Linked DNA regions of Homo sapiens: all the other regions are linked to region 2. Evidence: promoter capture Hi-C in 16 types of primary human blood cells and fetal thymus (Javierre and others, 2016). All regions are on one chromosome and are shown on one strand. Each heading gives the region's core, a stretch centred on a gene start or on the middle of the fragment in contact. The rest is flanking DNA. Distances are from core to core; before and after follow the strand shown. Region 1 holds the start of SLC4A10 (solute carrier family 4 member 10). Region 2 holds the start of FAP (fibroblast activation protein alpha). Region 3 holds the start of PSMD14 (proteasome 26S subunit, non-ATPase 14). Region 4 has its middle 39 kb from the start of SLC4A10. Region 5 has its middle 57 kb from the start of SLC4A10. Region 6 has its middle 21 kb from the start of SLC4A10.

Evidence for each region. The method cuts DNA at HindIII sites, captures the fragments that hold promoters and counts their contacts. A CHiCAGO score of 5 or more calls a contact.
Region 1: a fragment that was not itself captured here is called in contact with the fragment with the promoter of FAP in region 2 in 2 of 17 cell types (non-activated CD4 T cells and activated CD4 T cells); the score reaches 6.3 in non-activated CD4 T cells.
Region 3: the fragment with the promoter of PSMD14 here is called in contact with the fragment with the promoter of FAP in region 2 in 2 of 17 cell types (M2 macrophages and M0 macrophages); the score reaches 7.7 in M2 macrophages.
Region 4: a fragment that was not itself captured here is called in contact with the fragment with the promoter of FAP in region 2 in 7 of 17 cell types (naive CD8 T cells, naive CD4 T cells, total CD4 T cells and 4 more); the score reaches 8.9 in naive CD8 T cells.
Region 5: a fragment that was not itself captured here is called in contact with the fragment with the promoter of FAP in region 2 in 5 of 17 cell types (total CD4 T cells, fetal thymus, naive CD8 T cells and 2 more); the score reaches 7.2 in total CD4 T cells.
Region 6: a contact is called between a fragment that was not itself captured here and the fragment with the promoter of FAP in region 2, in 4 of 17 cell types (activated CD4 T cells, fetal thymus, total CD4 T cells and 1 more). The highest score is 6.2, in activated CD4 T cells.

The regions. Positions count from the first base shown.
Region 1 is chr2:161,623,946-161,628,600 of GRCh38, forward strand. It overlaps SLC4A10 (solute carrier family 4 member 10), which reads left to right and starts at 471. Exons shown (of 27, transcript NM_001178015.2): 1 at 471-621. The coding sequence starts at 574. The HindIII fragment of the contact is 818 bases long and covers 2,889-3,706 here.
Region 2 is chr2:162,242,000-162,246,681 of GRCh38, forward strand. FAP (fibroblast activation protein alpha) reads right to left here and starts at 1,446. Exons shown (of 26, transcript NM_004460.5): 1 at 1,323-1,446; 2 at 909-993. The coding sequence starts at 1,328. It overlaps LOC105373724 (a long non-coding RNA gene), which reads left to right and starts at 4,118. Exons shown (of 4, transcript XR_923544.3): 1 at 4,118-4,172. The HindIII fragment of the contact is 18,804 bases long and covers 1,096-4,682 here.
Region 3 is chr2:161,307,067-161,311,747 of GRCh38, forward strand. It overlaps PSMD14 (proteasome 26S subunit, non-ATPase 14), which reads left to right and starts at 1,359. Exons shown (of 12, transcript NM_005805.6): 1 at 1,359-1,538. RefSeq lists an enhancer at 1,227-1,686. The HindIII fragment of the contact is 7,205 bases long and covers 1-4,681 here.
Region 4 is chr2:161,582,741-161,587,784 of GRCh38, forward strand. No RefSeq gene overlaps it. Among named protein-coding and RNA genes, the nearest start is that of SLC4A10, 39 kb to the right of the region's middle. The HindIII fragment of the contact is 4,673 bases long and covers 192-4,864 here.
Region 5 is chr2:161,564,634-161,569,363 of GRCh38, forward strand. It overlaps the pseudogene MTNAP1P1. Among named protein-coding and RNA genes, the nearest start is that of SLC4A10, 57 kb to the right of the region's middle. The HindIII fragment of the contact is 2,220 bases long and covers 558-2,777 here.
Region 6 is chr2:161,601,323-161,605,843 of GRCh38, forward strand. No RefSeq gene overlaps it. Among named protein-coding and RNA genes, the nearest start is that of SLC4A10, 21 kb to the right of the region's middle. The HindIII fragment of the contact is 1,521 bases long and covers 647-2,167 here.

The DNA of each region.
Region 1 (4,655 bases), core at 2,048-4,547, 620 kb before region 2:
ACTTAAATGCTTGATTTTGTTGTCGTTGGTGGTGAATAGTTCAGCCTCACTAAGACATGCTAATATTAAAGTCATCTTATCTGTTTTAAAAGCCCCCAGGTACTCAGAGCGGAACACCTAGTAAACCTTATTTACATCATCTTGCTTGAATTATGTCTCCTATAGGGTTCTGAGAATGAAGCGAGTACCTCAAAGTGTCAAAATCAGACTGATCTGGTTGGAGGCCAACTTGGACTAGTCTATATGAAAAGTGAGCATCTTAGGTGAGATTTTTAATGCCCATTAGACTTGTAGCATTGCTTGCTGTATTTTATACTAGTAGCCAGGTGTGGGCAGTGATACAGGGCTTGGGGGATCTCTCTTACCGGCCCAGGGATCCAAGGCATTCAGTGCAAAACCTGGCCAGCAGCCCGAGTGAGTAGGAGCCATGTGACTCTGGTGAGTTGGAGTGTGCAATTGCCTCCTGCTTCAGAGCTACCTGATCCGAATACTAAGCAGAGCGAGTGCCGGGCTGAGTGTAAGACACTGAAGACACTGCAGAGCAAGGTGCTTATTCCAGAGGCGTTACAAAACATGGAGATTAAAGACCAGGGAGCCCAAATGGAGCCGCTGCTGCCTACGGTAAGAGACAACCTGCTATCACATAGATTAACCGCGTTTGCTGCAAAACCTGTTAGGCAAGCGGTCTGCTAGCTAGGTGCAGCGAGTGTACTTTTGGGGTGGTGGATAGCTCCTACGACATATGGACAGGGGTCTCCTCCCATCTTGGGAGACTGAAATGCATAAAGCAAAGCACACGATTCTCCTCCCCCCCCCTTCTCAATATGGATGCACTACGGTGATGAAATGTCTCATGTTTGCTGCTGTTTGAAGAAATGGCTAGGTTTTAGCAGCAGGGGCAGTTACGTGTCTCTCTGCCTGCCTGTTACTGCTTATCTCTCTGATTCTCAGGCTGTGTGCTGGTTTAAGCCCTTGCAGAGAAGCCCCCTTTTATCATGTTTAATCCCTATCGAATTTCCTCCCCCTGCCTCATCCCCAGGCAGTGAGGTGAGGGAATCTGCTGCTGTTGCAGCTCTAGAGATTTAGTCTCTACAGAAACCAGGGGAAAGAACAGAAGGATCGTGTGTGTGTGTGTGTGTGTGTGTGTGTGTGTGTGTGTGTGTGTGTTCTGTCTCTTTCTCAAAGGCAAATGTGTCATGGTTTTTGTACAAAGAAGGTATGCATTTTTGGGGGACAGGCACACAATTCAGATGTGAATATTAGAAAGGTTTCTGAACTGTCATTTGGTAATAGCCCATCTGTTTACCTCTGGGTTCTTAAGCTGTTTCCCTACATTTAATTTTTGTGTAAGTGATGGATTTGCCTATCCTCTCCACAATCTCTCTGTCTGGCTCGCAGACTTTGGAGATCTTCAGGCAACATCTTTTTCTGTCTGGAGCAGCTGCTGTTTCTGTGTTTAAGGAAAAAAGAAAAAAAAAACCCAGTATTTTCTTGATGCAACAGAGATGACAGTCATAGCTTCCAGCCATCTATCAGTGCTACCACAGCAGAAATCCCCTCCCTGCACCAAACCAGACGGAGGGGCTGTTTCTCAGCTCCCTGTTACTAAGGTTGGTGACCCACCTTGCGCGGAAGGGACTGGCGGTGAGCTGTCCATTTCCGAGTCCATTCCTAGGTTTTCAACAAAATGCTTCCGTAGGAGGAGTGGGCAAATTCTGGGCCACAGTATTTTCAGGGCCTTACCTCTCCTGCCGGGCTCACATGCTGCAAAAAGATTCCAGTTTGCATCCCCGGAATCAACTGTGGCGACTGAGCATGCCCAGTTCTCCTGCGGACGCCAGGTTTGAGCAGGGAGGGAGCAGAGTGATGGGAAGAATGCAAGGAGTTACCACCAAGAATAGAGTCTCAACAGAGGACAGGGGCAGTGTCGGGGTAGGGGGCCGGGAGAAAGGGAACAGGAGAAAGAAGTTTGTCAATTACCCTGTCTGCCTAAAAATAGAGATATTTCTTTGTGGCATCAAAGTGGAGTTATAAAAAAATACGTGTAAAAGATTTGTCTATCTTCCCAAACTTGAACAAATACATAAATTAGGATTCTGTTAGTACTCAGAATAAATACTGTTAAGAATACCAGGGAACTCTTCTTCCCTGGATGAGAGACGGGAACTATACACAGGAATCGTGGTATGGGGATTAGGGAAGGTTTAGGGAAACCCCCAACCCTTTTTTTGGCTGGCAGTGGGGGTGGGGTGGGGTGTTGGAACCTGTCCTAGAAAAGCAGGCTAAAGCCAGTTTGATGTGGCTTATGGATTGTCACTTGTGGGGAACAGTTAAAGGGTTTAGGACCAAATGAGGATTAACTAGAGGAATTTAAAAGAGGATGACATTACTGGGCTAGATGGGCAACCAATTTATAGCTTAAAAGAGCAGAGAAAATACAAGTCTTTCCTGAAAAGAAGGTCTACAATACATCTGATGGAAATTTTTGAAGGCCAGAGTCAAAAGTTTGCATGTCATGGGGTTAATGGTCAGTACAAAATAGTGACAGTTTAATGGTAAGAGGGAATCATATTAGCAGATCATCACAAGAAAAACAAGCCTGAGGGGCTAGAGAGGATGCTGAATTACTGGTCCAGTTTTATACTTGTATAGCAACTCCCCCAGTTGCTTTTATGAAAACCTTTTTTGTTTAATTTTCAAAACAAACATGTTATGTAAAGCAGATTTTATTATTTTCATTTTCAAGGTGAGAAATTGAGGCACAGGGAGTCTGAATAACATGTCTAAGATCACCCAGTGATGAAACCAGGACTAGAATTTAGGTCATCTAAAACTAGTTCAGAAATTGTTTTAAAAATTCAATATTTTTTACATTACATTCTTAACCAAGCTTAACATGATCAGTTCCTGGGCTGAAGTTTTTACGCTTGGAAGAGAGCTCTGGGCTCTGTTTTAGAAAATTAATCAGACGACTTTGCAAATAATTTTGTGAGAGGCAATATAGCATAATATTTAGAACTCAGTCAAGGCCAAACACTGCTATTTATTTGTTATATGATATTGGGAAAGTTATAAGTTACAGTTTCTTCAACTGAAAAATGAAAAGGGAATGTTATTATATATCTCTTGAGTTTTGGAATCAGTTAAATAACTTATATGAAGTTCCTGACATTTAGTAAGTGTTCAATAAAACTTGCTATTATCATTGTCAATGTTGCTGTAAAATGAATATATTATTGCTATATTCATCTCAAAGTAGATATTGAGAGGATGTATAGGTTTCAGGTTTTTATGAGAAGTGGCTTGTCAGTACTTTCTACCAAGAAGGAAAAATGGAAAATGGAGAACTGGAAAAGACTCTTCATAGTGGAGGTGGGAGGTGGCGTTTTTTAGTTATAATTATGAAAACTTTGCAGTATGCTTGGAGAGCCAATTGGACAGGCATTAAAAGCCAAGATTAGATATGGGACAGAAGCAGTCAGAGGTAGAAAGATAGGGAAGTGAAAGAGAAAGGAAAATAAGAATAGATAAGTATGTCAAATGAGTGAATGTATTAATCCTGACTCAAGTGAAATGGAGGAACAGATTCTCATTAAGCCTCCCAGGGTTTACCTCCATTTAGTATAGTATATATAAAGTACATTTGAAGGATACGGGCAGAGGAGGCCTAGATATGTTTCTCTTTTTTTCCCAGTCCTTCTTAGGAAGCTTCAGTGATAATTTCCTTTTGCTGGACAAGCCATCATTGCATTTTGTAGACTCTAATCACTCCAAGGGTTAGGGCGTTCACTCTTGTTGGCTAAGTGTATAGTCTGGTTTTGGTAACAACTGACTGCTATGTCTGAAGTTACAGAAAAAGTGTGTCAGAAAGATGTGTTCTCTTAAGTGCCTACTGTTGGCCAAACACATTCTTGGTGCTGGAGATGCAGCAATAAATAAGGCAGGCAAACACCCTATATATGTGAAACCTCACACTCCAGCTAGACTAGAAATAGGACTCGATTTAACTTTTTAAGAGACTGCTGCTTTCTCTTCAAAATATTTAATAATTGTTATAACCTTTTTGATATGGATATATATGGAGAATATATGTAACAGTAATAATGGTGATATCATTTTAGTAAGAATGGAATTAGCCTTTTAAAAGTATGAAGCCTGATATTTAGGATTGCATTATGATTTCACATTTTCCTTTGATATTCAATGTTGAATTTGCTTTTAGGAGTAACCTAACAATTTAAAAATTATCAGGCCATGGAAGAAGCTTCCAGAAGAATATATAACTTATATTTATATCTCATGACGTTTAATCTTGGGTGATCTACAGTGAGTCTACTTTGGATCCCTTCTAAGATTCTGATGTCTGAAAAAGGACTTAAGTTGAGCTTACTCATAACATTTCCCTAAGGTATAAAACTACAGTAAAGTTCACTTTTAAAAGATAATTTGATGATATAGGATAGATGATTGGATTTAGTACTTTTAGAAAATGCTAATTCCATATTTCCAAGTGGCCCAGTTTATTGAATTGTTTTATTTGTGGAAAAAAGTTATAAAAAGTCTTTAATGTAATTAAATCAGGGAAAGAAAAATGGGACTAAAATGTCAAAGTAACAAAAAGAGCACATGGAATGGCTAAGTAATATTGTTTTTTC
Region 2 (4,682 bases), core at 196-2,695:
TATTGATCTTCATTTACTATCAGTTAACTTTTAACCAAGATATTTCCCACATTTGTTATCATAAACTTTTAGTATTTATTAGTACAAATTTTTCCCCTTTCCTAGACACAAAGACATAAGACCTGTTATTACTGGATTTTTTTTCCATTTCAGAAGCTTGAGTTTCTCTTCATAAATATTTTCATAAAAAGCTATTTCCCTAATATCACTAGATTATCTATCAACATAGTCCTACTTTATATTTAAACTAGCTCTGATATCAGCCCATAGTACCTTCCAATTTTTAGCAAAGTGAGATCAGTGTCAATCTAAGCCTTTTTTGTAAAAGGATCCAATTTATGACTGATCAAAATGCTTGCTTAACAATGTTTGGTTTTCTAATTTGATGTGCAGTGCTACTACATCTAAAACAACAACTTTGCTTTTTCTATACAGCTATTCCTGAGATCTGTATTCTCAACTTCCTCCCTAAATTTTTGGAAAGACTATTTAGTAATAAAAAAAGTCCATAGATTCTGTTTTAACTTTTCCATTCTTACTCATTTTTACTTTCCACGAGACAAACCTAATAATGAAAAGCAATGTTAGTTAAAAATGTTGTTTCTAAAGGCCTGTCAAAGCTTGTATTTAGCATATATTTTTGGGGGTTGTGGGGGTGATGCAGCATAGTTCTTAGGTTTTTCTATTGCTGAAATAACACTGTAAATCTCTTCCTACCCATGCCTTAAATTCCTCAGTATTTCTGGTCTTGCACAACAACATATCTGTGAGCTTATATGTCTTCTTAGAAATAACAGACTTACTTTGGAACATAAGCACTTAGGAAATGTTCAACCACTTGTGATCTTGCATTAGTACATTTTCCAAGCTATTCTAGGCAGATAGAGCAAATCAGAGAAAGTTCTTACCTCTTGAAGGGCGTAAGACAATGCACATCACCAATAAGGCAAGCACAGCAGAGGTGGCAACTCCAAATACGATTTTTACCCAAGTCTACATAAAATAAAGAGAATTAGGCATACACACAGTTCCTGCTAAATAGTAGAAATGGCAAGATTTTGTTTACACCTAAATCCTTTTTCTCTCGCCCCACAAAGCTTTTGATTGTTTTCCACTGATCCGGCTATAATTGCTGGAATTCTTCCAGCTCTGCAAGGACAAATGTTTCTACAGTATATTTAGAACAATTTTCCAATCCCAACCCATTGAGGAAGTAAATACTTATGTACAAATCTTCACCTTCTAAACAATAGAAAACTCTGATCACGTTCAATCCAGCCAACCCTAATTTTTTAAGAATACTTGAGGTTGCTTATACTAACCTTCATTTTTCCAGATGTTTTTGAAAGTTAGCTAATTCTGTCTTCAGAGCGTGGGTCACTGGATCTGTGAAAACCGTTGAAAAGGACCAAGTCTGTCTTTGTAGTTGGAAGCTGAAGCCAGGACAAGGTTTTTTTCTTTCCACGGACTTTTGAATACCGTGCCAAGTTTCAAAAGATTTCTGTAAAATTAGAAACAGATTTTGGGGGCGTTCTTGGCCCTCAAATGAACTGTGAGTGACTCAAGGGAAGTTTTATAGCCTTCTCATCCTTGTAACTACACCAACATCTGCTTACGTTGACATACAGAGGTTTTTATTTTTTCTTTTTTACCAGTTCAGGTTTATGTTGCATTTTCTTCTAGAATTCACTGAAGGATCACTTTAGCAAGTCATTGGGTTTTGCATAACATTTTTATTTGCCACTAAAAGATGAATTTAAAATAATGAAACTTGCAGGTCTGTACATTAAACATATATCTACTTTTTAACAGAGGAAGAACATTGAAGCCACATAAGATTTTGTGAGAAATGTGCCATATAACTGCACTTTTTTTTCCTCTGGAAGATTATGAGGTATTGCAGACAGAAATGTTTTTCTTTCAGCACAATTTCTTTGTCCATATAGCACCATATGCACTTTCAGTAAATACAGAAGTTTAAAAATTCAACTGTCTAAACCCACGGCTGCTTTACTTTAAAGAAATAAAATGCCATCTGGTGAAATTTAGTATGGGTTAGGTGTGTATGCACAGGCTAGAAAGATGGAAAGATCAGTAAGAATAATTTACCAGCAGACCTTTGGAAGAATGGAAATGGCTTTACAAGAGTGGTATTTTTGCTTTCCTCTCAGAATATCTTCTGAGAGAGGAGAACATCTAGTAATTATAAAGATTTAAAAATAAATAAAAAAGCATCTGAAAAGAAAAGTAAATCTTATGTATAATTTCATTTTGGCTAAATCTACATAATTCCAAAGAAATTGGTCATCTTGACAGATTAGTAAAATGGTTGACTGAATTAAAAAAAATACACATACAACAGTTTCTTGGAGTGTTCTGTCTGTTTTAATGCAATTCACTTGGATAGATTTTGTGGTTCCACGTAAACACAGTTGTTAAATCTACTGTGTCCTTAATTTTTCCACTAATGGTTTTCTTTTTTCGAAGTTTATAATGTTCCCAACCTGATTAAAACACTTCATGGCAACCTTTCTTGGATTGTACATGAAAGGTAATGGGGAAATGTTACCAAAACATGTTGCTGTTTGCCTTAGTCAACTTCTCTGGCTACCACGGGACACTTTCTCCAGCAAAGAGCAGGACAGTGGCTTGTGAACTTCCTTTCAGACATTCTCCAGACATCCCTCCCTGAATTCCAGCCTTATGAAAATTCTGTTGAGGAAAATGAGTCATTAGGCACTTACTGGCAGAGAACTGTATTCCTGGTGGCTGGGGCTGGGCCCTCTCCTTTGCTGTTGGTGGAGTCACCTCTTTACAAAATGAAGTAATCATTAAGAGTAATATCCAAGGTGTGCTATACACTTGTAGGTATCTCCAAGTGATTGTGAAATCCTCAGATCTCAGATAAAAGCCAGCAGCCAGGTCCTGAATGAACTGTTTCTGTGTAAGTCCTCTCAGATTGATTGTCTTCTCTGGAACACACCGTGTTCTCAGAAGTTCTGCCCTAGCCTGCCAAAGCCCCAGAGTACACAGGCACTTTTTAGTGGGTGATTTCCAAGACTTTACATTGTAGAGAGAAACTATAATAAATTATTAGGGTGTAATTAAAAGACCATGCTGAGAGCATGTTAGCTCTAGCAATTAAGAATGCACTGACATGTGACTGGTCTGAGCACCACTTAGGATTCTATGACTGTGTGTGGGTGTCCACAAGATACTCATTTAATAGGCTCTATGAAGAGGTTGGAGTGCTTTAAGATACACTTAAGTTGCCACTATTAGTAAGGGTGGGAAATGATGAGAGTGAAACAATGTCTGTTTAAGTTTTTTTGTTTTTTCCTTGGAAGGTTGGGTGAGTCAAGCTGTAACTTCTGGAAAATTCTTACTAGTTTGAACTGTTTTAAGAAAAATGAGACTGACTGCAGAAATAAAGATGTCGAGTTTTTCCATCTGAATTCATGGTTTAGGGAGGTATTGTTTTTATAAAGTCACACATGTTCATTCGTTTGAGATAATGTGAATGTATTCTAATTTTCATCCAGACAAGAACTCTCATAAAATTTGGATTTTTAAAATATTGTAATATCTTTATTAGCTTTTTTTAATTTTGGAATCAAAATGAAAATACTTTTGTCAACTTTTAAAAAACATTTACGAAACTGACTCTTATTCCTACTTTATACAATTAGTTAACACCCCATCAACATTTTTGTTGAGAAAACAAAAATGAATCAGACACAGTCTGTGCCCTTAAGGAACTTACATTCTAGTATAAGTATGGCAGGTATGTTCTTAATGTTCTTACATACTTGTTTCCTTTTGCTTCCTAAAGCTCTTGTTCAGAAATAGCCTGAAGCTGAGTTTGTGTTCTGTAGAAAGAGTGTTCTCACTGGTTGGTGATTTCTTCATGGACCTGGGAAGAGGACTGGAAAGGGCACATACCACATGCATGTCATCCTTAGTTCAACCTTTGTTAGTTCTAACCTTTGTTAGTACTGAGACTTTTCTCAGAAAGCAACTCTGGGTCTATTAAAATGCTGCAAAACCAGAAAGGATGATGATTTGTCATGTAAAAATGTAAGGGCAGCAATTAGGAGAGTAGAGGCTCATCAACTGAGTTCTTTCCAGAGAGGGACCTTGTAAGGCTGACTTTGGAATATGACTGCATTCTGGTAAGCCCACTGGATAAGTGAGCTATAACATAAATCCTTAGGTTATAAGGAGGAGAGCTTACTAGAACTATTTATTAGTAGCCAATGTTTACCTGCCAAAAATGATTTTAATTTATATGTTTTCCCAGAAAACACATCCAGCTATGTATTTCTAGAGTCTGAAGGTAAGACCATGCTGAGAGCATAAGGATGTTATCTTTTTATTTTATGGTGGGGAGATGAAAGAGAGATGTGTTTATTAACCAAAAGCCATGACAAATTATTTAAGGACAAGTTACAAGGGGAATAAGGATACAAGTGCAGTAAACATAAGCCTGATTTTATACTCTTTAAAGTAAAAATTTGCTTCTAGAGAGCCTAACAGCTCCTAACATCCTACCCATTTGATTCCTCAGATTCAATAAACATTTATTGTTTACTGTTATCTACAAAGTGATTTTAATGCATTATTTCATCTGATCCATACCAAAACTCATTTTGATGATTAGGAAACAGCCTAGAAAAACTGGA
Region 3 (4,681 bases), core at 109-2,608, 940 kb before region 2:
AGGCTGAAGTGGGAGGGTTGCCTGAGCCCGGGGACGGGATGTTGCAGTGAGCCCAGATGGCGCCACTGCACTCCAGCCTGCGTGACAAAGCAAGACCCTAACTCAAAAATGCATTAATAAATAAATACATATAAAATAAAATAAAATAAAAAAGAAGTGAGGAAGGTCTGAGTTAAGGCCAAAGTGGGGAGTATTTAGAAGGGGAAGTGGTGGATTGGAAAAGCTGTTATGGAGATTACACATTTCATGGTTTCTACAGTGGGGAGAGATGAAAAAGAGGCAAGTGTTCATACTCTTAAGTTTCTGATTAGGAAAATTATTTGGAGGACGGGGCTACTCACCCCCTCCTCCCATAAAAAATGAATAGAGAGGCATAGGTTTGGGGGGGAAGCATAAAGATGTGGATCCAAATATTACCTATGAGTAAAATAATCTTTGTGTTTTTAAAGGTATTAATATCTTAAAGCAATTGTGCTACTCAAATCACAGTTTGGATCCAGGCGCTGTAATCTTTCCTCACCCTCTGTCCAGTAGATTCATCACCATTCTCGATTTAGGAATGCTTTAAAGATGCTTGTTATTTGGAACATATTTGAGAAAGTGACAGGAACGTGGCAAACAAGCTGCCTTAAACAGAGACTGTACCTAGACCTAGAGTGTAATATCAACTTGTCAAGTATATCTTCTGCAACTTTGCTTTTTGAAAGCCTAGCACAAAGTAGATCATGAGTAAAATGTGATTGCCGATAATTACATGGAGAAATGTGAATAAATGACTCTTTAAACCCTGTAAACTAAACTCGGCTTAAAATAGGTGGTTTGAACATTTGGGAAACCTTAGTTTTCCCTGAAATCCAATCCTTGCAAAGCAATAATGACAAGAGGTGGATAAAGCGGACTTACAGAAAAGGGCGTCTTACCGGTCCCCTCTAATCACACCATCCCCCCTCTTTTAAAAAAATTTTCTTCTCAGATAACCAAGTTAAATCTAGCTCAAATGAACCTTTTAGTTTTTGAGGAGGGCAATAATAGTAGTGAACACCAAAACGAAAGGGGATCTGGGCTTCAAAATACTAACAGTTCTATTTCCTAGCCAGTCGTCTCCCGGGCTGGATGTGCCGCCGTCCCAGATCTCAGCGGCGGCCGCAGAGCGCAGAGGTAGGGAGAGAAAAAGGAGGCGTCGGCGGGGCGCGAGCGACCAGGGCGCTAAGTGCCGCCTCACAGTCCTGCCAGAGACAGGAGACGCCGGGCCGCCCGCGCCGTCTGTCCCAAGAGCTCCTCCTGGACATCCGCTTGACTCTCCGTCGTCTCCAATTGGCCGTCGGGGAACGGAAGCCGAAGCAAACTAGTGAACCCGGAAGTGCTTCGCGGCGGAGGCCCGGGCAACTCTTTTGAATGGAATCGGGCTGATTCATCGCCGGTTTGCAGACAGAGCCGCGTCGGGTGTGCGCCGCTGCTGCTGTTGCCTCTGTCTTCGCGTCACCACAGAGGCAAGACAAGGGTCCATATCGCGGCATCCGGCTCCCGCCCGTCTTCAGGTAAGACCCAGAAGGCAGGCCTGGGAGGTCTGGGGAGGCAGCCGTGCTAGGCCGCCGCCAGCCCCGTGCTTTCCTGAGTCACGTTGCCCAGCTGAGTTGCCACAGGAGGCCTGGGCCGCGAGGGAGGAGCCCGGCCTCCTTCATTCTCTTCGCCTGCTCTCAGGGCTCTCTGGCAGGGTCAGGTCTGGATGTCGCCTCCTTTCTCCATTCTTTTCTGTTTGGCCGAATTCACATCATGGGAACCTCTTCCATCTATATAGAGAGAATCCTTGTTTATGGCCTGTTTGTCTGTGCTCTATCCATAGTTGTTAACCGGTCTGCTTTGAAGTTTTTCAAAGCAGACCGGGAAAACAAGGGAGAGAGAGTAGAATTAACTTTCCCATTGAATACGTTTGTTTTATCTCTTGTCCTTCCTGTAAGCCTTAACCCTTTTTCTGTTAGTGTTAGGTTTTCAGCTCCCTCCAAAAAGTAAACAAAAGTCCTGCAGATACACTGCTTTTGGACCTTGAATATCTTAAAAACAAAGTGTGCTACTATGGCTGTTAACTTACTTTCAATATCATACTAATTGAGTAATTGTTGGTAAATTGATTACATTTCTCGTTTTAAGTAAAGTAGAAATCTGCTACCGTATGTTACATCTTGCAACTTAATTTTCCTGGGGATGTAGCTCTGTGTCTGTCAAAAGAAAAAGAATGTAAACTTTTGAGTCTATAAACCTAGTGACTGAAGGAAAAATTCTCGAGAAAATAAATGGTAATATAAGTTGATAAAATATTATGGAAAGGCAGGGGAAAGGGTTTAAAAATGAGCATAAAATAGAGTTATAGTGTGAAAGTGATTTTGTTCCACTGGTCACAAGTGTTTTTTTAGTGCTTCTGACTTAATGTGTTTGAGAAAAGCAGCAAGACATGCACTGATACTGTAGAAATAACAAAAACATGAACACAGTTTTAGTGGAGATGATTAATATAATGGTGGCCTTCCTGTCACGTAAGGCTACCTACCAGCTGACTCATTTGAAGTTTAGAGGTTAAGATATATAGTGGTTCTGAATTAACTACAGTTAAGGTGTGTTTAGTGAAGTGCTATTTAGTGAAAAAGGCTAAATGTTGTCTTGAATTTGTCCCTAAATCTTGCCAAGGGAAGAAAGTTTTCAAGTGATGATCTTTTATTGATGCTTCACCTGTTGACTTTGGGAGTTTTTGGTTTTTTGTTTTTTTTTCAGCCTAAAGTGCTTGGTAAATAATACATTGCCATTTTAATTTAGGCCGGGTGCGGTGGCTCACACCTGTAATCCCAGCACTTTGGGAGGCTGAGGTGGGCAGATCATGAGATGATCCAGCCTGGCCAAGACTAGCCTGGCTAACATAGTGAAAACCCGTCTCTACTAAAAGTATAAAAAAATCAGCCGGGCATGGTGGCACGTGCCTGTATTCCCAGCTACCTCAGGAGGCTGGAGGTGGAACCTGGGAGGTGGAGGTTGCAGTGAGCCAAGATCGCGCAACTGCACTCCAGCTTGGGCAACAGAGTGAGACTTTGTCTCAAAAAAAAGAGAAAAAGCTGAATTTTAATCTGTTTGACATGGGTTCATCTTATTTTCATACTGGCCATGTAAACCATGTGCTTGTTAATATATAGTTTGTGAACCATATGTATGAAAGTCAATAAATATTATTGCTGTTGTTATTGTTATTATCTTAGAAGTGGAAGAGATTAATCTAGTCCTCTTATTTCAGTAACAAGAAGCAACTGTGCTTTTTTAATTTTCAATTTTGTAGTAACGTTCATTTAATAATTCAGTGTCCACCTGTGAAAGCCTTGCCTGAATATCCATGTGATTTCTTGCTCAGGAACTTGTCATATTCCCTGTTTGTTGCAGTCATTTTGACATTTCGTATTCTGCTTTGTGTGTGATACTTTGGTGACCTTATTTGTGAAATGGGAGAACTTGATTAAATAATCTCTTCTAGTTCTAAAATGATAATAATAACAATTATAACAAGAATAGCAACGACAACATTTATTGAGTACCTTGGATGTTCCAGGCACTATAAATTGCTTTGGACGTATTTTTACAACAGACTTGCAAAGTAGATGTTATCCCCACTTTATAAATGAGGTCTAGAGTCTAGAAGAGGGTAAAAATTAGTGTCATATAGTGAGTAGGTGGTGACGCCGGATTCAAATTGAGGTCAACTGGTTCAAGAGCCTTTTTCACTCTACACTGCTGTCCTTTCCCTTTACATATTTTTTATGGGTTTGTGTCAAGCTGCTTCTACCCACCTGCCCCGATAGATTATAAATTCTCTCAGTGCATGCCACTAAATTTCTTGAGTCAGCCCTCCATATCTTTGGGTTCCGCATCTGTAGATTCAACCAACTACAAATTGAAAATATTTGGAAAAAAGTTGCATCTAGGCCAGGCGTGGTGGCTCACGCCTGTAATCCCAGCACTTTGGGAGGCTGAGGCTCAGGATCACCTGAGGTCAGGAGTTCCAGTCTGGCCAACATGGCGAAACCCCTTCTCTACTAAAAATACAAAAATACAAAAATTAGCCGGGCATGGGGGCGTGTGCCTGTAATCCCAGCTACTGGACAGGCTGAGGAAGGAGAATCGTTTGAACCTTGGAGGCAGAGGTTTCAGTGAGCTGAGATTGCGACACTACACTCCAGCCTGGGCAACAGAGCGAGACTCTGTCTCAAAAAAGGAAAAAAAAAATTGCATCTATATTGAACATGTATAGACATTTTTTTTCATTATTCCCTAAGCAATATAGTATAACTATTTGTATTGTATTTAATTGTATTAGTTATTATGAGTAATCTAAAAATGATTTTAAAGTATATAGGAGGATGTGCATAGGTTATATGCAAATAGGGTACTATGCCATTTTATATGAGAGACTTGTGTATCCATGATTTTGGTATCCTGGAACCAATTCCCCACAGATACAGATGGATGCTGAAATTAGGAGACTCCATAATAGATTATTATGATGAGTCTGTTCTCACTCTTCCTTTTTTTTTTTTTTTTTTTTTTTTGAGATGAAACCTTGCTCTGTTGCCCAGGCTGGAGTGCAGTGGCGTGATCTTGGCTCACTGCAGCCTCCACCTCCCAGGCTGCCTCAGCCTGCCTAGCT
Region 4 (5,044 bases), core at 1,278-3,777, 660 kb before region 2:
TGACCCTGAGAAAACCAGTAGCCTTTTCTATGATTCTGATTTTTAACCACAATTTTATAGCTATGAAAGAAGAAAACAATTGTTCCAAATATCTGCACAATAGGAATACCGAGATTTCAAGAATAATTCTTTGTGTGTTTTCTTAAAATGTAGCATAATCTATTGCTACTGTTAGTGTTTCCAAAGTGGCAAGCTTGAATTCAATTTCTTGTAATAAGTAAAAACATGTCCTTTATATGGCCAGCGGTAACTTTTTGGTTTGAACTGCTATATGAATTAGGAATAAAAATATAATATTGGATTGAACTTCAACTTATCAGAAAAATTCTTTAACTATTAAGATATTTTAGGTATTAAAATTCAATTAGTATTAATATAAATTTGAAAAATTATTATATTTCAATTATGTTTAGCTGCTTATAGTTTTAATTCAGAGACATTAGTTGATTAAATACTGTCTCTGTAACTAGGCCTTGATAAATAATGCTATTGTGTGTGACATGGATAAGAATCAGGTCATAGTTTGGTATTTCAGCTTGTGTGCACTGTCCTTTGCTGAAGAGAAAACATCATCTTGGTTCAAATGATCAGTACTTGCTAATTTATTAGTGATTTATTTTCCTTAAACCTTGAAAGTCTTTTTGTTATATTTGCTGAGGGTAGGGTAAATAAATTTGTACTCACAAACCAGATGATCTCAGATGTGACTGATTCTGGCTACTTCTTTGATTTATGGAATGATTAATTTCATTATGAATATTTCACAATCATCTGGGAAATTGGTTAAAAAAAGAGGAACTTAATTTAATTTGCTATGGTATGTCTATAGGTATATTTATATCCCTCTTATTTAAGGCAAAGATGAAGATCTAGGCCAACTAGGGAACTCAATAGGCCATGATCGTTGGAAGTTGTGGGTATAGTTACTTGACATTGTGATTTCTGTGTATTTCTTTTTCAGACTGATGTTATTTAAAAATGGTGCCTGCTTAGTAGAGGTGCATAGGGAGAGGAATGTTGGATTTTTATGTTATTCACAATACACATGCCAGATATATTTTGCTTTCCTGAAAAAGTTGTACTATCTTTACTCCTCTAAATCTGTTGCCTTTCTAAGCATGATACCAAAGGCAAATATCCTGAAGAAAAGAGTGATAGATTTTACTACAAAAAATTTAAAACTGTCTGCCAAAATCCACTATAAACAAGATTGAAAGGCAACTGACAACTCGGAACAATGGGAGCAACACATATGGTGAACAAAGGGTGAAAATCCTTATAAAGAGCTCTTAAAATATAAGAGCATATTGCACATACCAGATCATCTTTTCATCTGGAGAGCTAGGTACTCTTATTATCTTTATTTTATAGATAGATAAAGAAGTTAAGGCTTAAAGGGGTCTTACAGTTAGTCATGAGTGAAAGATTCAAACCTGGGTTGTCTGACCCCAGAGTCTGTACTCTTAACCACTAAGCTACACTTCCCTCCATTTTTACAGGTGGCCAGAGACATCAACAGGCAATTTGCAAAGACACCCAATGGCTAGTAAACATATAATATTTATTTTCTCTCTGGAAAACAAATAATGGAAATGAAAATAACTAGAGAACATTTTGTCTATCAAACTGACAAAAGTTTTAAACAATGGTTATGTTCATTTTTGGCAAGATATGGAAAAACCAGACAATTGGTAAATCCTTTCATTGGGAAAATTACCCACAAAATCCCTTAAAACTCAGTTATAGTTTTTAACATTGTAATTTAATTTTTAGTTATGAATCCTGAGAAAATAGTTGTGTATATGTGAGATTTAGTTATGATGATGTTAACTCAATATTTGTTTATAATGCTAGAAACTGTAGACAACCAAAATGTTCAACAATAGAAGACTGATTAATTAGCATACATCTATAAAATGGAATGCCAGTAGTTGTTTAAAGTGATATTTTAGAGTTGTTTGGGCCGGGTGCGGTGGCTCATGCCTGTAATCCCAGCACTTTGGGAGGCCGAGGCGGGTGGATCACCGGCGGTCAGGAGTTCAACACCAGCCTGGCCTGGTGAAACCCCGTCTCTACTAAAAATACAAAAATTAGCCAGGCGTGGTGGTGCGTCCCTGTAGTCCCAGCTACTCAGGAGGCTGAGGTAGGAGAATCACTTGAACCTGGAGGAGGAGGTTGCAGTGAACCGATATCGTGCCACTGCACTCCAGCCTGGGAGACAGAGTGAGACTCTGTCTCAAAATAAATAAATAAATAAAAATAAAAATAAATAAATAAAGAGTTTTTGATGGCATTTTATGTGTTAAGGGAATAAATCAGATCATTAACTCATTAAGATTCCATTTAAAAATTGCACGTTATTGTATTGATAAAACACTGAAAATGTTTTTATGAAAATATTAACTGATTTTCTCTAGTTAGAATATGAGTGGGTCTTATTTTTAATTTTCCAAAGTTTCTACAATAAAGAAATTTTATTTTTTTAAAAACATAAAAGTTACCAGCCAGGCATGGAGGCTCATGCCTGTAATCCCAGCACTTTGGGAGGCTGAGGCAGGTGGGTCACCTGAGGTCAGGAGTTTGAGACCAACCTGACCAACATAGTGAAACCCCGTCTCTACTAAAAATACAAAAATTAGCTGGGCATGGTAGCGGGCACCTGTAATCCCAGCTACTCAGGATGCTGAGGCAGGAGTATCACTTGAACCTGGGGAGGCGGAGGCTGCAGTGAGTGGAAATCGCGCCATTGCGCTCCATCCTGGGCAACAGAGAGGGAGACTCCATCTCAAAAAAAAAAAAAAAAAAAAAAAAAGAAAAGGTTACCAGAAAGTTTCTTTAATTTACTTCTTTTTGCATGTAAGATTTTAAAAAAGTATAATCACAGATTTACAAGAGAAAAAATTTTGATCTTTCCATCCTTTTCCACATGGTGGATCTTTATTTTAGTCTTCTAATGGATAGTTGTCATAATGTTATTCCTGGGTAAACTTGAATGATGTTTTATTTATTATTTCCATGTGAATTTTTTTTGACTCTTTTTTTGGCCATAGTTTTATCATTATTTCTTTTCTTTAACTTCTTCCCATTTATATTTGCCGATTTCTACTCTTTCTAATATATTTCCTATATTCTGTTTTTTATTAGAAAAACTCCAATTTTTTAAAATTTTTAAACAATAATTTTAATTTATTTTAGAGTCAGGGGTTACATGTGCCTGTTTGTTACATAAGTATATTGTATTATGCTAAGGTTGGGGTACAAATCATCTCATCCCTTGGGTAGTGAGCATAGTACCCAATAGTTTTTTGGCTGTCTCCCTCCCCCGCTCCCTACTCTAGTAGTCCCCAGTATCTATCGTTGCCATCTTTATGCCTATGAGTATCCAGTGTTTAGCTTTTAAATTCATTGCTTGTTAATAAAATATACCAGTGTTCAAAATTTTCTTCTTTTCTACGGAATAAAAATTTTGCAAAATTGGCATGAAATTTGTTGTGCAAAATGGAAGATGCCAGCTTGCTTATTTTACTTTATATTATTTAACAGAATTAAGATTACATAACCTAGTTCTCAATAACTGGTGGTATTTGTTGATAAACTTCTATTGATATGTTAATTTTCTGTTAACGTGGGACTTATTAGTTACGTCTCGTTCCTGAATTCGTGAAACCTCCCCTCCCCCAAACAAATGCTCTCTCTCTCTCTCCTCTTCTTTCAGTAAGTCAATTTATATTTGGAGACATGGCACAGTAGTAGATGATTCAAGCTGAGAAAGAACGAAAAAAAGATCTCTGGCACTCATTCCTTGCTTTCGTATGAGCTAGCTCCCGACAGGTATCTAGTATATGCTGAGTTTCCTGTCTTTCTCATATATATCAGGCAGAGTAAAGCAGGTAGGAATCAGAGGCCTCAAATTAATGTCTGTAAATCCTGAGGAAATATTTTGAGGCTGCAGTAGACTAAACGATGCTAGATTTGGTTTGATTTGCTGTAATTCTATCATTTGAACACTAAGTGGCACTAAAGCCTAGGTCACAGATAACATATTGTCAATTTAAATTCTAAGATTTGGGGTCTATTGGTGGGTAAATGGCTTTGGAAAAGTGAAAAAAGGATTAGTAAGAAAGTATTCTGAGCTTAAAGAAAGACAGAAAAAATAGTTTTACAATCAGTTATTTTTGGGAACTGGAAGTTTAACCAAACTCTCTTGCTTTTATTTGCAAGTTATTTAAAAGCAAGGAGTAAACCGCTCTTAAAATGACCAAAGATGATTAACCTCACTGGCACCTATCCTTGAATATTTTCCCTTTTTCTTTGAAGGGAAGGAAAATCTATACTTAGAAGAAGGTTTTCAGATGGAAAGCACCCATATGCACGTTGAACCTTAAGCTCTTGCGTACCCATAGATGACAATACCCATAATAAACATTTTTTTCAACGCTTTTGAGACTATTTACTTATACCTATAATATGTATTTTTACATTTGACCTAATTTGGGAAATGTCAGTATAATTTGAGTTAGAAAAAAAGATCAGAATTTGGTTATTTTGGAGAGGAAAGAAAATCATATGTTTTATTGCTTATCTGAACTTTAAAAAATTAAAATAATCTTTCCCAAGATTTATTGAGATATATAATTGATAAATAAAAATATATATGTTTAAGGTATAAAATGTAATGATTTGATATACATATACATTGTGAAATGATTAGTACAATCAAGCTAATTAACACATTCATAACCTCGAAGCTACCATTATTTATTTCCAGCTTTATTGAGGTACAATTGACAAAAATGTATATACGTATGGTGTATGACGTGATATTTTGATGTATGTATACATTGTGAAATGATGACTACAATGAAGCTTAACATATCCATCACCCCACATAGTTATCTTTTTGTGGGGAGAAACATTTAAGATCTCTCATAGCAAATTCCAAGTACGCAATACATTATTATTTATACTCACCATGTTGGACATTAGATCTCCAGAACTTGTTCATCTTGCGTAACTGAAGCTTTGTGTTGTTTGACCACCATCT
Region 5 (4,730 bases), core at 418-2,917, 680 kb before region 2:
CATTCTATTATAAAGATAAATGCATGCATGTGCTCATTGCAGCACTATTCACAATGCAAATATATGGAATCAACCCACATGCTCATCAATAATAGACTAAACAAAGAAAATGTGGCACATATACACCATGGAATACTATGCAGCCATAAAAAAGAAATGAGATCATGTCCTCTGCAGGGATATGGCTGGAAGCCATTATCCTCAGCAAACTAATACAGGAACAGAAAATCAAATACCACATGTTCTCACTTATAAGTGGGAGCTGAATGATAACAACACATGGACACATGGGGAGGAACAACACACACTGAGGCCTCTCAGAGGGTAAGGGGTGGGAGGAGAGAGCATCAGGAAGAATAGCTAATGGATGCTGGGCTTAATACCTAGGTTATAGGTTGATCTGTGCAGCAAACCACCATGGCACACATTTACCTATGTAACAGACTGCACATCCTGCATTGGTACCCTGGAACGTAAAATAAAAATTGAAGGAAAGAAAAAGATTTGTTTTCAAGTTCTGAGATTTTTTTCTTCTGCTTGATCTAGTCTATTATTGAAGCTTTCAAATGTATTTTGTATTTTCTTCAATGAATTTTTTACATCCACAATATCTGCATTTTTTTAAAAGATATCTATTTCCTTGGTAAATTTCTCATCCATATTCTGAACTTTTTTGTACTGTTTTTCATATTTCTCTTGCACCTCATTGAGCTTTGTTAAAATCAATATTTTGGTTTATTTATCTGGCATTTTGAGGCATTCTTTTTTATTTGGATCTGCTGCCATGCAATTGTTGTGTGGTGTCAAAAATCCCTACTTTTTCATGTTTCCTACGTCCTTCCATTGATATCTGTGCATCTGGTATAGCAGTCACCTTTTCATTTTTTTGTTCACATTAATAAAAAATTTACTTTCTATATAATTGTTACAGATTTCAATAATTTTATTCTTTTCACTCCCTCTTCTTGCTCTAAATGCCATTTTAAATTATTAACTATGTATTGAAGTCAGCTCCATTGTATGCCCCTTGTAGTTCCAAAGATTTCTTTTTCTTTCTTTTTTTTTCACTTATACTTTAAGTTCTAGGGTACATGTGCACAATGTGCAGGTTTGTTACATATGTACACATATGCCATGCTGGTGTGCTGCACCCATTAACTCGTCATTTACTTTAGGTATATCTCCTAATGTTATCCCTCCCCCTCCCCCCACCCCACGGCAGGCCCCGGTGTTTGAAGTGCCCCTTCCTGTGTCCAAGTGTTCTCATTGTTCAGTTCCCACCTATGAGTGAGAATGTGCGGTGTTTGGTTTTCTCTCCTTGTGATAGGTTGCTGAGAATGATGGTTTCCAGCTTCATCCATGTCCCTACAAAGGACATGACCTCATCATTTTTTATGGCTGCATAGTATTCCATGGTGTATATGTGCCACATTTTCTTAATCCAGTCTATCATTGTTGGACATTTGGGTTGGTTCCAAGTCCTTGCTATTGTGAATAGTGTCACGATAAACATACATGTGCATGTGTCTTTATAGCAGCATGATTTATAATCCTTTGGGTATATACCCAGTAATGGGATGGCTGGGTCAAATGGTATTTCTAGTTTTAGATCCTTGAGGAATCGCCACACTGATTTCCACAATGGTTGAACTAGTTTACAGTCCCACCAACAGTGTAAAAGTGTTCCTATTTCTCTACATCCTCTCCAGCACCTGTTGTTTCCTGACTTTTTAATGATTGCCATTCTAACTGATGTGAGATGGTATCTCACTGTGGTTTTGATTTTCATTTCTCTGATGGCCAGTGATGATGAGCATTTTTTCATGTGTCTGTTGGCTGCATAAATGTCTTCTTTTGAGAAGTGTCTGTTTATATCCTTCACCCACTTTTTGATGGGGTTGTTTGTTTTTTTCTTGTAAGTTTGTTTGAGTTCTTTGTAGATTGTGGATATTAGCCCTTTGTCAGATGGGTAGATTGCAAAAATTTTCTCCCATTCTGTAGGTTGCCTGTTCACTCTCATGATAGTTTCTTTTGCTGTGCAGAAGCTCTTTAGTTTAATTAGATCCCATTTGTCAATATTGGCTTTTGTTGCCATTGCTTTTGGTGTTTTAGACATGAAGTCTTTGCCCATGCCTATGTCCTGAATGGTATTGCCTAGGTTTTCTTCTAGGGTTTTTATGGTTTTAGGTCTAACATTTAAGTCTTTAATCCATCTTGAATTAATTTTTGTATAAGGAGTAAGGAAGGGATCCAGTTTCAGCTTTCTACATATGGCTAGCCAGTTTTCCCAACACCATTTATTAAATAGGGAATCCTTTCCCCATTTCTTGTTTTTGTCATGTTTGTCAAAGATCAGATGGTTGTAGATGTGTGGTATTAAAATCTAGAAGAAACGAATAAATTCCTGGACACATACACCCTCCCAAGACTAAACCAGGAAGAAGTTGAATCCCTGAATAGACCAATAACAGGCTCTGAAATTGAGGCAATAATTAATAGCCTACCAACCAAAAAAAGTCCAGGACCAGATGGATTTACACCCAAATTCTACCAGAGGTACAAGGAGGAGCTGGTACCATTCCTTCTGAAACTATTCCAATCAATACAAACAGAGGGAATCATCCCTAACTCATTTTGTGAGACCAACATCATCCTGATACCAAAGCCTGGCAGAGACACAACAAAAAAAGAGAATTTTAGACCAATATCCTTGATGAGCACTGATGCAAAAATCCTTAATAAAATACTGGAAAACCGAATCCAGCAGCACATCAAAAAGCTTATCCACCATGATCAAGTGGGCTTCATCCCTGTGATGCAAGGCTTGTTCAACATATGCAAATCAATAAATGTAATCCAGCAGATAAACAGAACCAAAGAAAAAAACCACATGATTATTTCAATAGATGCAGAAAAGGCCTTTGACAAAATCCAACAACCCTTCATGCTAAAAACTCTCAATAAACTAGGTATTGATGGAACGTATCTCAAAATAATAAGAGCTATTTATGACAAACCCACAGCCAATATCATACTGAATGGGCAAAATTGGAAGCATTCCCTTTGAAAACTGGCACAAGACTGGGATGCCCTCTCTCACCACTTGTATTTAACATAGTGTTGGAATTTCTGGCCAGGGAAATCAGGCAGGAGAAAGAAATAAAGTGTATTCAATTAGGAAAAGAGGAAGTCAGATTGTCCGTTTGCAGATGACATGATTGTATATTTAGAAAACCCCATCGTCTTAGCCCCAAATCTCCTTAAGCTGAGGAGCAACTTCAGCAAATCTTAGGATACAAAATTGATGTGCAAAAATCACAAGCATTCTTATACACCAGTAACAGAAAAACAGAGAGCCAAATCATGAGTGAACTCCCATTCACAATTGCTTCAAAGGGAATAAAATACCTAGGAATCCAACGTACAAGGGATGCGAAGGACCTCTTCAAGGAGAACTACAAACCACTGCTCAATGAAATAAAAGAGGACACAAACAAATGGAAGAACATTCCATGCTCATGGATAGGAAGAATCAATATCGTGAAAATGGCCATACTGCCCAAGGTAATTTATAGATTCTGTGCTGTCCCCATCAAGCTACCATTGACTTTCTTCACAGAATTGGAAAAAACTACTTTAAAGTTCATATGGAACCAAAAAAGAGCCCGCATTGCCAAGACAATCCTAAGCCAAAAGAACAAAGCTGGAGGCATCACGCTACCTGACTTCAAACTATACTACAAGTCTGCAGTAACCAAAACAGCATGATACTGGTACCACAACAGAGATATAGACCAATGGAACAGAACAGAGCCCAAAGATTTCTTAAGTGACGTCCAGGTCAACACTACTTACACCAGTACTGCAGCTTCAGATGCATGAAACTCCAGCTACAAAATAGGATGAAGTATCCTTTAAAGAGCACTGTGATACCACTGACTCTACTCTTCTTTATGGTGGTATTGCACTTAGTCCAGCCTTTTTGTACAGCTCCCAAGAGCTTCATTAGAGAGAATTTGGAGATTGTAAGTCTGATTGGGGGTTTCAAACTTCTTATATCAGTCGAATTTCTTTCCAACGAAGGAACTTGTGAAAGTCTTCCCTTCTGGGAACGGATAAGCTGTGGTTTCTGGGCCATTGCATTCTAACACTGAGGCTTTCCTGGGAACACCCCTAGTCCAAGATAAGCAGGAAACAACTCCAGCCCCATGGAGCTGAAAGGTCCTTTCTGCCAGCAGTTGTAGCATGATTGGTGAAGGGGCTCTGAGAAGTGTGATCCTGGGGTGAACATAAAGGGCCCTGTCACTAAATGTGCAATGCTTGGAACTGAAGCCAGATATGGGCTCCAGAGAGACTTGTTCTTTACTCTCCACTAATGCCTTTACATCTGAGACTCAGTTATGACTGCAGTCTTTTACTTTCTCTTCTTGAATAAATTTTCTAGACAGAGAGGCAAGACTTTGGCTGCTTGGTTGCATTACAGAAAGAAATTCATTGTAAGTTATCGCCCTTGGAATGAACAAGCTTAAACGGAGTCTTCATCTTGAGATTTCTTCTCTGTGGCTGAATCATCAGTGTTGAAGTCCTATGAGCCATGCTCATGGCAGGCCATTCCTGCTTTTCTGTCCCAGACACACTTTTCTCCTGCATTTTCTCTACTCTGAGGCTAAGTCCTTATTCTTGGTTCCCCAAGACTCAGATTTTGCCTAAATAGCTATTTTTAAGGCTTA
Region 6 (4,521 bases), core at 157-2,656, 640 kb before region 2:
CTTTTCTTATGTTTTCTCTCATTTCAGTGGAATACTTTTGAGGAAGACAATGTTGTTACTATAGCAATACTTCCCAAAGTGATCTACATAATTCATTGCAATCCCTATCAAAATTTCAATAGCCCTTTTTTTTTGCATTTATGGAAAGGTTGATCCTCAAATTTATATAGAATAATAAGGGATTCTAAATAGCCTAAACAATCTTGAAAAAAAACCAAGTTGGAGGACCCATACTTTCACATTTCAAATTGACTACAAAGCTACAGAAATCAACACAATGTGGTACGAATATGAGAATAGACATATGTCTATATAAATGTAATAAATTGAGAGTGTAGAAATAGACTCATACATATATGGCCATTTGACAAAGATGACCAAGTATGTCAAAATCATTCAATAGAGAAAGAATAGTCTTTTCAATAAATATGCTGGGGCAACCAGATAGCCACATATGAAAGAATGATATTTAACTCTTGAGAAATTTAATCCTCATGTATTACTGGTGGTAACTTAAACTGATGGAGCCAGTTTGAACAATAGTTTGACAGTTTCCCAAAAATTACATGTAGACTTACCATATGACCCAGCAATTCTACTCTTAGGTATATACCTCCGCCAAAAGGAAAATATATCTTTAGCTAAAAGCTTGTCTGTAAATTCTCATAACAGCATTATTCAAAATAGCCAAAAGTGGAAACAACCAAAGTGTTCATTAATTGATGAATATAATTGATGAATTACATGAATAAAAATCCATGTAATGCTGTGTTATTCACTGATAAAAAGGAAATGAAATAGCTATACATACTACAACATGGATGACCTTGAAAACATTCTGCTAAATAAAAGAAGCCAGACACAATGGCCATATATTGTATGATTCCATTTATATGAAATGTCCAGAATAGGCAAATCCACAGAGACAGAAACGAAATTAGAGATTAGTAGTTGCCAGTGATTAGGAGCGGGACTTCTTTTTGGTGTGATGGAATGTTCCAGAATTAGTGCTGTAGTTGCACAACATTGTGAATATGCTAAAAACTATTTTAAAAGTTAAAACTGGTGAATTTTATATTACATGAACATGATCTCAATAAAAATGTTTCTGATAAAAAGAATGATTTTTTTTTGTTTTTTTGTTTTTTTTTTTTGGTAGAGACGGGGTTTCACCATGTTGCCCAGGCTGGTCTTGAACTCCTGGACTCAAGTGATCCACCCACCTTGGCCTCCTAAAGGTCTGAGATTATAAGCATGAGCCACTGCGCCCACCCAAAAGAATGATGTTTGACTCTTATTTCATACCGTATACAAAATTAACTTAAAGTTAATCAAAGACCTAAAGGTAAGAGCTAAACTATAAAACTTAGAGGAAAGTGTAGGAGTAAATTTCATGACCTAGTGTTTGGCTTTGGCTACTTAGATATGACAACAAAAACACAAGCAACAAAAGAAAAAAACAGATTGGTCTTCATCAAAATCAAAAACTTTTGTTCATGAAAGGACACTATCAAGAAAGTAAAAGACAACCCACACAATCAGAGATAATATTTGCAAATCCTGTATCAGGTAAGGAACTAGTATACAGAATATGTTAAAACCCTAACTACTCAACAACAAAATGACAACCCAGTTTTTAAAATGAGTAAAGTCATAAATAGACATTTCTTCCAAGAAGATATACAATGGGCCAGTAGGCACATGAAAAGATGCTCAACATCATCAGTCACTACAGAAATGTAAATCAAGACCACAATGAGATGTTGTTTTCCACTGCTAGGATGGCTATTTTAAAAAATGGGAAATAACAAGTGTTGGTGCAGATGTGGAGAAATTGTAAACTTCATACGTTGCTAGTGGGAATATAAAATTGTGCAGTTTCTGTGGAAAACAGTTTGGCAATTCCTCAAAAAGTCCTACTTACAGTTACCATATGATCCAGCAATTCCACTCCTTGGTAAACACTCATATGAAATGAAAACAGATGTTCAAACAAAATCTTGTAAACAAATGTTCATAGCACTATTCACCATATCCAAAAAGCGGAAACAACCACAATGTCTATCAACAGTTGGGTGGCTAAGCAAAATACAGTATATGTATTCAATAGAATGTCATTCAGGCATACAAAGGAATGAAGTACTAATTCATGCTACAATAAGAATGAAGCTTGAAAACTTCATACTAACTGAAAGAAGCCAGTCATAAAAGGCCACATACTGTATGATTCCATTTGTAGGAAATATCCAGAATAGGCAGATTCCCAGGGGCAGAAAGGTTACTGATTGCTAGGGCATGGGGTTTGGGGCAAATGAGGAGTGACTGATGAATGGGCATGGGCTTTCTTTTGCGGCAGGGAAAATGTTCTGGAACTAGAAATTGGTGGATGGTTGCACAACATTGTGAATGTTCTCAATGCCACTGAATGTGCACTTTAAGATGACTAAAATGGTGTCTTTTATGTTATATGAATTTTACCTCAATAGAGTTTTCTGATTATAAGATGCCTGAACTTCTTATTAAATTTATTGGGATGAATTGGCTACTTCTTCCTCTTTGTCGTAATCTTTAAATTTTGCTTTAAAAAATTGTGATTTGCATAGTAAATAGTTTCTGGGTCTCACTAAATGAGATTAAGCAAATATGCTCTATACTATTATATAAGCTGTAGTCAAATAAAAAACCCTTATAATACATTATGCTGAATTATAAATACGATTATTTCATTAGGTCTGAGTTGCCTATTCATTTATTTTATGTTAAAGGGGAACATACATTTAAAATGTTATTCCTAAAGCAATACTTGGGGTTATAACATTTAATTTCTCACAATTTAGTAGTGTACTGATCCATGTGCTTTCATATTAACTATTTAAGAGTTGCTTAATGAATATTGTACTTAAGTGAAAAATTAAAATATTTTTAATGTTTTTAACAGTAAGTGAATTTACTGTGTAAAATGCTGAACACTGCACATAACATTCAAAGTATAGTTTATATGTTATCACAAATTTGTGCTGAAAAGTAGAAATATGTAAACACTTAAAGTCATTAAATCTTACTGGAACCCAAGTTTTTCCCAGAGAGTTATTACATATTAAAGTGTAAAGTAAACCAAAAATAAAATCTTATAATCAGATTAAAATGTTTTTCAGTTGATATTTTCCCTTAGCTTTTGTTAATTGACACATATAATAATTTCAAGAGATGATAGTAAATATATAGGGTATACATGGCACATGCAGAAATCTGTACATTTCTCTAGCGTATACTAATGTATCTATTTGAGATTTAGCTAAAACAACTGAGATGAGTGCTAACAAAAATTGGGTTATTTAAACCAGGTTGTAGAGAGTACAGTTGGTTTTCAAACTGTGTTAGACAGAAAATGATTGTTGACTCCAGCTCAGTGTTCTTGAATACTTGTTTCTAGTCTTAATATAAATGTAATTTGTGTATATATACATAATGCTAAAATGACTTCATTTTTTTATGGATCTTAGGGTACAAGTTTCAGAGTATTCATTTGGGCTTAAGCAGCAGGGAGCAGAACAGAATTGAGACTGAGATAAGTTAGCATTTGGGTATACTAGATAATCTGTCTGGAGGCAGATAATTGGACTTTTTGAGTCAGATATGAATTGTGACTCCAGGTGAAGAAGTGAATCTGAAACCAGGCAGGCAGGCAGAATTCAGGTTTATAGATAAACCAATTGAACATTAGGGGAAGGCAGAAGACCAGAAACCAGGCAGACAAGTTAGCAGAACAAGACAATGAAGTACTATTAAGGCAGACACTTTAATCTAGACAGGTAATTCATAGGAACCGAAAAGGCAATAGCTGACTTTCATTTTGAAGCATGCTCTTGATAAAAGGTGATGATTTTCATAAGCTTCCCATTAAACCAAAAGCCAGTCTCAAGTTTTGGTTTTTGTAATACTTGCTGGTATTAATAGAAGTAGAAAATAATGACTCAGCCTAGCAGGAATAGGGAAGGTGCCCACAGCATATAAGGCCACATTCTAAATACTATTGGGAATATATATTCTTTTGCTTTTTAATTGCTTTATTGCCTGGGTGGATTTAAAAATTCATATTTCTGAAGTTTGTCTGAGACAGAAGTTGAAGATTTTTGACAGTTCACAAAATCAATAATTCTTTATTAATTATATATTTTATTATTTCATCCCAGAAAGGAGCTACATTCTTAAAAGATAACTCTTAGAAAACCATATGAGTGGCTTTCAAATTTGTATTTATCTGTCAGCCATTCTTCTAATAATTTAACTGTCATTCGGCATATATTTATTACTCGTCTGCTATGTGCTGGGCATATTTTAGGAATAAAAAAGCAGGAATAAGGGAGGAAATTGTATGTAACAGATTAACAAGATACTTTATAATAAATGTGTAATTTATATAGAGGAGTATACCTCAACCATCTTTCTATTTTTTTTCTATTTGACGCATTCGTTGCCTTTTTCCTGTATTCTTTTGGATTGTGTAATTTTTATGATGAC